2 separate regions of the Homo sapiens genome follow, and region 1 is linked to region 2. Evidence: promoter capture Hi-C in 16 types of primary human blood cells and fetal thymus (Javierre and others, 2016). All regions are on one chromosome and are shown on one strand. Each heading gives the region's core, a stretch centred on a gene start or on the middle of the fragment in contact. The rest is flanking DNA. Distances are from core to core; before and after follow the strand shown.

What was found. The method cuts DNA at HindIII sites, captures the fragments that hold promoters and counts their contacts. A CHiCAGO score of 5 or more calls a contact.
Region 1: a contact is called between a fragment that was not itself captured here and the fragment with the promoter of STARD13 in region 2, in 1 of 17 cell types (endothelial precursors). The highest score is 5.0, in endothelial precursors.

The regions. Positions count from the first base shown.
Region 1 is chr13:32,645,844-32,649,455 of GRCh38, reverse strand. It overlaps PDS5B (PDS5 cohesin associated factor B), which reads right to left. Exons shown (of 35, transcript NM_015032.4): 2 at 576-702. The coding sequence starts at 683. Among named protein-coding and RNA genes, the nearest start is that of PDS5B, 61 kb to the right of the region's middle. RefSeq lists an enhancer at 3,176-3,285. The HindIII fragment of the contact is 2,822 bases long and covers 923-3,612 here.
Region 2 is chr13:33,283,841-33,287,824 of GRCh38, reverse strand. It overlaps STARD13 (StAR related lipid transfer domain containing 13), which reads left to right and starts at 2,070. Exons shown (of 14, transcript NM_178006.4): 1 at 2,070-2,355. The coding sequence starts at 2,187. RefSeq lists enhancers at 1,768-1,897, 1,908-1,967. The HindIII fragment of the contact is 3,531 bases long and covers 1,246-3,984 here.

The DNA of each region.
Region 1 (3,612 bases), core at 1,084-3,583, 640 kb after region 2:
TCTTTATCCATTTTAACAATTACAGAGATCACCACCACCCTAAAGGAAAAGGTGAAAATATTATTCAAACACATATGAAGAGGCCCTAGCCTCATCCATAGAAGTTCACCAGCAATCTTGATTCATTACTACATGTCAGAAGCAGAGGAAGAAGCTTAAAGTGAAGCCCTTTGACCTACTTTGAAAATAACTTACAAGAAAGTAGTACACAGCCTAATTACTCAGTATAAAGACCTAAAACTCCCTTAAAGTGGTTGTCTTTAGAAACTATATAGAAGAAAGGAGACAACTTTGTATAGACAATAAGGAATATGAGTATTGTAGACTTGTTCTTTATACCCAAGTATAGGAGATCCTAGAAAATCTAAGCTTCACCTAATTGCTGTCCCTTTAATCATAGCCAAATAATCCCCACTGTACCTTATATACTCTACTCCCTTAGATCTTTTCTATGCCATTTGCTGCTTTGCTTTGCTTTTTTAAGTTACCCCAACAAGATACATTATAGCCCCATGTGATTTCCACAGGGGACCTCTGCCCTACACAGATGTAAAAAAGAATAGAATTTTACTCACCTTTAATCGTCTCACCATCTCCTCTTTAGATATTTTATCTGATATTTCCTTGACCCCAGGCGGATATGTAATTTTTCCATCATTGGTCCTAGTCTTTGAATGAGCCATGACAGAAATATTTCTACCCCTGAAACAAGAAAACTATTAGATGCAAACCAAAAAATAGATATAAACATTCTTAACAAACATAAATGGTAACCTTCCCCACCAACCAAAATTTGTAACTACCTCCTAATTTATAGTAATTTACTTTACCATTTAATGAAAATCACTCTATTGAACATTTCCCCAAATTATTTTTAGAAAAACAAAACTTATTTTTACTTTCATTTCCTCAGTGGCAAGCTTTGTTATTTGTCCTAACCCTCCAACTAAAAATAATAATAATAATAGTAAGCTAGAGAAAAATAAAAAATAAATACTTTTTAAAAGCACCACAAAGTACTCAAACTAAAACCTAAGAGAAAATAGGAATCCAGGGAAGTAAGTGGGAACACTGGGACATTATAGCTACTTATACTCTGAAAGCATTTTTCATTTCTGACAAATGTGGGATTCAGTTTTGATGGTCTTATAGGGCAAGGGGAACAGAAGTAAATCTGAACATATCAAGGCAGACAGTCAAATAGGAAACTCTCCTGACATTAATGTAGGCCACCACCCTACCCAAAGAAGATATACCTGCAAAGGAGAGGGTAAACTAGAAATGAACACCTCTTTTCCCCAGCCCCACCCCCTAGAGGGAACCGCTGAGAAGGCTGCCTTGGTGCTAAACAGAGAAAGGCAACATGAATACAGGGAAGGAACAGGTAATTAGTTTTGGCCATGGGCCTGCACACTTGCTGGGGCTGACATGACCTAAGTGGCCCAGAGAATCTCAAAACATGAACTCACAGACCCCTGGTTAATAACAGCCCCAAGCACCTAACATAAGTAAATCCAAGTCCTGCCTAGAGAAGGGTGCCTTCATCCTAAGTATCAAAGAATCCCCACTATGATGTTTCTAGAACAATGAGCAAGTATCAAGTCAAAAATAACCAAGCAACTATGAGGGAGAACCAGCAGAAATACCACACAACAAAAACAGACACAATTTTTGTGTCTATCAAAGACTGTAAAACTACTATAATCTTAAAGAAATAAAAGACAATTCCAAAAATATCTACAGGAAACAAAAAAAATTATAAAGACTAAACTAGAAGATTTTTTTTAAATAGAACTTCTAAAAATGAAAAAATACAATTACTGAAATTGAAAATTCAACAGGTCAATGTATTCGCAGATACGAAAAACCATTAAAGGCCAGGTGGGATTGCTCACGCCTGTAATCCCAGCACATTTGGGAGGCCAAGGCAGGCCTTTTGAGCTTAAACTTTGAGCTCCAAAGTTTAAGAACAGCCTGGGCAACATACCAAAATCCCATCTCTACAAAAAATACAAAAATCAGCCAGGTGTGGTGGCACACCCCTGTAGTCCCAGATACTCGGGAGGCTGCAGTAGGGGAGCTGCTTGAACCCAGGAGGTAGAGGTTGCAGTGAGCTGAGATTGCGCCACTGCATTCCACCTGTCTCAAAAAAGAAAGAATGAAGTGAAAGAAAGGTCATAAGAAATTATCCGGAGTGCAACACAGTGAAACATACACCTGAAATACATAAGGATAGAAAGGCCTAAATGTAGCCTACAATTCATGGAAGTTATAGAGAGAGAAGAATGAGAGATTCACTCATGGGATTCATGAGAGTACCAGAAGGACTAGATTGAAGCAGAGGCCAAATACCTACAGAGAATATCATAAAATACCAACCTACAAATTCAGTAAGCCAAACAGGGTTAAATTTAAAATAATAATAATTCCAGAAAACAAACAAAATTTAGAGCACACACAGTACCTTGAAAGGAATAGCATTTAAACTAACAGGTGACTTCTCAACAGCAACAACATAAGCCAGAAGACAGCAAAATGTTATCTTCAAAGCAGAGAAAGAATATAACTGCAAATCTAGAAGTTTACAACCAAGGAGTATAATTTTTAAGTGCAGAGTAAAATAAGGGCAAATTAGCCAAATGAAAACTAAGAGGTGTAAGTATTTATATATAAAGTACCTACAACATTGCTTAGCACATACTAAGTACTATATGTGTATGTAATATACACAATCAGGTTAAAAGAAAAGATTTTTAAATTTCAACATAAACACCTTAAAAGACAATGAAAAAAGTGGATACATGCTGAAAGTAAAAGGATGGAAAATTATGTCATGCAAACACTAAAACCCGTTAAGCTAAATATCAAGTTAAAAAAAAAAAAGATAAATAGGCCCCAGATTCACTCTGTGGTATTTACTCAATAGAAACGTATAGTTTGTCCACCGTAAGACATATAAAAAAATGTTCACAGCAATACCATTCAGTTGCCAAAACAGAAAACACAAATGACCATCAACACTAGAATGAATAGCAATTTGTAGTATAGTCATACAATGGGGGCAAAAAAAAAAAAAAAAAAAAAAACACAGCCATGAGAGAATAAATCATTGCCTCACACAATAATATGGATTAACATTACAAACATCTGGATGGGCATGATGGTTCACATCTGTAATCCCAGCATCTGGGAAGGCTAAGGCAGGTGGATCACTTGAGCCCAGGAGTTCAAGACCAGCCTGGGCAATACAGTGAGACCTCATCTCTACAAAAAATAAAAATAAATTAGCCAAGCATAGTGGTGTGCACCTGTGGTCCCAGCTACCCGGGAAGCTGAGGTGGAAGTCCTGCTTAAGCCCAGGAAGTCAAAGCCACAGCAAGCCATGATCACACCACTGCACTCAAGCCTGAATGACAGAGTGGACCTTGTCTCAACACACACCACACACCACACACCACACACCCACACACCCACACACACACATCAAAGTGAAAGAAGCCAGACACAAAACACTACATAAGAGTATGATTACATTTATAAGCTCGAAAACAGAGAAACCTAATCTATGACAGTAAAAGTCAGGACAGTGATGTTTTGGGAGACAAATGTTAA
Region 2 (3,984 bases), core at 821-3,320:
TCCATTCTCTTCCAGTAAAAAAGTGATAACCACCAAGTGTCTGCCTTGAACAAAAAGTTATGACACAGATGCTCCCAGTGTTGGACCATCAAGCCGAAAGCACGTGCACAAAGCAGCTGATGCAAGCACCTTAATTGGACGGCCACCGGTGCGGACTGAGCTGGGCTCATGAACCTTCCAGGCAGCCAACTTTGCAATATGGTGCTCGACCTTTCTCCATTCGAGCTTCTGCCGAGCAGTTCCTTAGGTCTCAGATCCCTTTCACCTTCCACAGACGATGCTATGGAACAGAAAAACTGCTGCTCAAATCCTAAATAAGAATGGAAAGTGCACAGTATGGCCCCATAGATCTTTCTTTCCCTTCCTGCCATGAAGCCAACCTGAAAACAAAGACATGATGACTCTTGTGTAACCACCCGAAGAGGCTGACAATTACCAACTACGTGAGGTAGTAGGCAATTGTCACATGCTGGGCTGCAGAGATCGTGCTTAACTTGTTTATTCTCATAGCGGGACAGTTATACAAGACGAGCTGCTTCTCAGAATCAGGCTAGCAACAATTCCCTCAGGGAAAGTTGTTAAGGCTTATGGGCCTCGGAGAGCCAGAGTAAGAAGAATCAAAGTCCTAATTTAAATCCTGTTAAACTTTTAATTTGGAAATAATGTAGAAATAATTTCTCATTATTAGACTATAAATTCCCAGCCAGGCTATGTTTCCGTCAGCCAAATGTAGAAGCAACTTGGTCATATACTTTTTGTATCAAAGAACTTTATTCTTTCAGCCCCAGGCTCAGAATTTGATAACATGTTTTCTGTGGACTTTTTCTCTTCACATCAAACAATGTTAAAGAAGAAAAACAGGGAAAATTATAATGACATATACATATATGTCACTCAGTGTGTGTATGTATATATATACACACATATATACACATATATATACACACATATATATATACACGTATATATATACACACACACTCAGATATGGCCAAACTGAATTACTAGCAGTTTGCTTAAACCATATACTCTGGTTCTGGATCTGCACACATGGGTACCTACAGTCTCTTGCAAAGCCCTCCCCAGCCTCTGCCTATCAGAATTCCCCCCATTTTAAAAAGCCTATCCAAATGTCTCTTTCTCTATCTGGCTTGCAATCATCACCCCAGTCAAAAATAATATTGCTCACCTAGCATTGTGTTTGCGTCCTTTTTGAGACATATATATGGCCTCATGTTAGAAGCTTTTGTATAACTTCTCAATGGGTCCTTAGCAGGTTGATGACAGTATCTTTGAAGTACCTTTGCAACTTCTGCAGTGATTCTTGTCTTAAATGATTCAGTGTCTTAAATGTGATAGGCACCTTCTAAGTATTTTACCTCTAGGTGATTAAAAATTGGGGAAGTAGAGAAATCAAAGAGGAAAGGATGCTTAATACGTAACGCGTGTGTACTTTGCCTCTCTGAGTCTTATCTGTAAGAGCCCTCCAATTCCCATCACGTGAGGGTCAGGATCTGTGGTGTATTCACTCCTGGTGTTAAAGCCCTTGAAGTTTATTTTTCACTGGAAAAGTTTTTATTTGAGTTGTTTCTTGATAATGAAGGTGGTGGCTTACGCTCAGCTGTTGATGCTTGTTTGAAGTAGTTTTTTTTTGTTGTGTTGTGTTTTTTAAATTTAAGAGATTTATCAGGTCCATCTTTTACCTGGCTGCTGCTGCCCTGTAGAAAGCGAAGGAGCTTTCTCTAACTTTGACAGGCTGAAAAGTTTCCTGAGCCCTGGACTTGTTTGTCTTCTACTTGTTTTGCCCTTCCCTCTCTCTTTTTCTTTCGACTCCTTTAGTGAGGGCTGCTTTTGGGTGCTTCGTCAGCTCTGAGGCACGTCAAATACGTGTATTTTGCTTTCAGCGTTGTGTGAGGGACCCTGGCGGCTGGAACTGCCTCTGGTCGGGGCTTAGGGCTGACTGCAAACGTTCCCATTTTCCTCTCTTCCTCTCATTGGTTCCCGAGGTCACGTGAGGGCCCCGGGGGTTGGAATTCTGAGTTGTGGCTTTGGCACTCCTCTTTCTTTTTAAAAATCGCTGGGTCTGTTGAGCTGTCCTGGGCTGGGTGCCTTGCTCTTTGACTGAGACTGGAGACAGACGGCAACAGCCACAGGCAGACTGAGGTGGCAATAGGAAATCTGCCGAGATGTTCAGTCAGGTGCCCAGGACCCCAGCCTCAGGCTGCTACTACCTAAATTCCATGACACCTGAGGGCCAGGAGATGTACTTGCGATTTGATCAGACTACAAGACGCTCTCCTTACAGGATGAGCCGGATTCTAGCACGCCATCAGCTAGTGACTAAAATTCAACAAGGTGAGTGGCCGGCAGTGGAAGGCTGTTGCTCATTCTGATTTCTGTTGGCTCTATTTCATGCTAACCCAGTTTTTTTTGTTTGTTTGTTTCCACTTTATAACATATGGATTTCTATGCCACACTACCCGTAACTTTGAAAAATAACTTTAGGCTGCAGTTTTCAGCAAACAGGACAGTCCTTAGCTGCCACATAGCTCAACATAAAGTGCACAAAAAACTTCACGGTGGGACAGTGAATCATAAATTCCCAAACTGACGTGTGTCTACAGAACAGATGAGAACTGTTACTCAGTGTGTATCTTAGGAGCTTTTCTGCAGTTTCCTCACACTCCGTCACATTTAAAATGTGGACACTTGTTTATTTCATTAGGGAGGAGGCGAGGGACTAATGTCCACCCTGCCCAGAGTATTTCGAATATCCTTAGTGAAGAGGAGGAAAGCAAGAATTCTGTTCTAAAGGCCACCAGGCTAAGCACTAGAATCGCATTCTCTTCCTGTTTGTATGTTTATGTCAGCAGTTGCCACAGATGTGTTAATATTGTTTTCCTGGTAGAGAATTAAGGTGTTCGTTCATCTCAAAACAAATCCCGTAACCTGCACACAAAACTCCAGCTTCCTAATGCAAAGAGAAGAGAATATTGATTATAAGCTGCTTGATATTCTTTTTATTCCCAGCCCCTCAAAATACCAGCCTGGAAGTCTGGACATTACTAAAATTTACCAGTCTCAAAAAAAAAAAAAATTTAAAACATGCTCCTTATAGGGTATATCAGTAGAAAGCAGAAAGACGAACATTCCTAAGAAGCCCCTAACACACACGTTTACAGTCAGTTAATGATCACCCTCCTCCTAGACTACAAAAAAGAAATTATTATATTGGTGCTAAATAAGTTAACCAGGAATTTTTAGAGCCGTTCCTAAGAAGCCCCTAACACACGTTGACAGTCAGTTAATGATCACCCTCCTCCTACACAACAAAAAAAGAAATTATTATATTGGTGCTAAATAAGTTAACCAGGAATTTTTAGAGCCATTATAAAAATACAGTTTCCACTTAAATAAATGAGTTTAAGATTATATTGAATATTAAAGAGGAAGTTGGGGTTTGTAATCATGAAAATCTTATTGTAATGTTTCCAGAAAGAACAATATGTATTCTAGCGGGCAGCATTTGATGAGATTGTTTCCTTGGAAATTAGGATTTGTTTGTAAAGGTTCAGGAACTAGTTATGTGTGAAGGATGCTGGTCCTTCCTACATGCTGGTCTGATTTCAGGAAGGATATTATGTCATTGCATAAACTCTGTGTCCAGGTCTTGATTGAATAGAAACAAAAGTAATTATTTCCCTGTGGCTAGATTTAAAAATACTTTAGGCTTAGAATAAAAACCAGCTCCACTTTGGTTTTAGAAATTTCTGACAATGGTGCCTTTCCAAATGCCATCATCTTTATGAACACCGAGGCTTAATGATGCGCTATCATCTACAAGATATAAATGTTCCTCAGCATGCATATCATATGAGAAATATTGCAGAGAACTAGCTGAAATTGCTTTGCAGACCTCCTTAGATGTATTTACAATAATTTATTTTATTTAAATATTATTTATGTTCTTTTTGGAATGAGGGT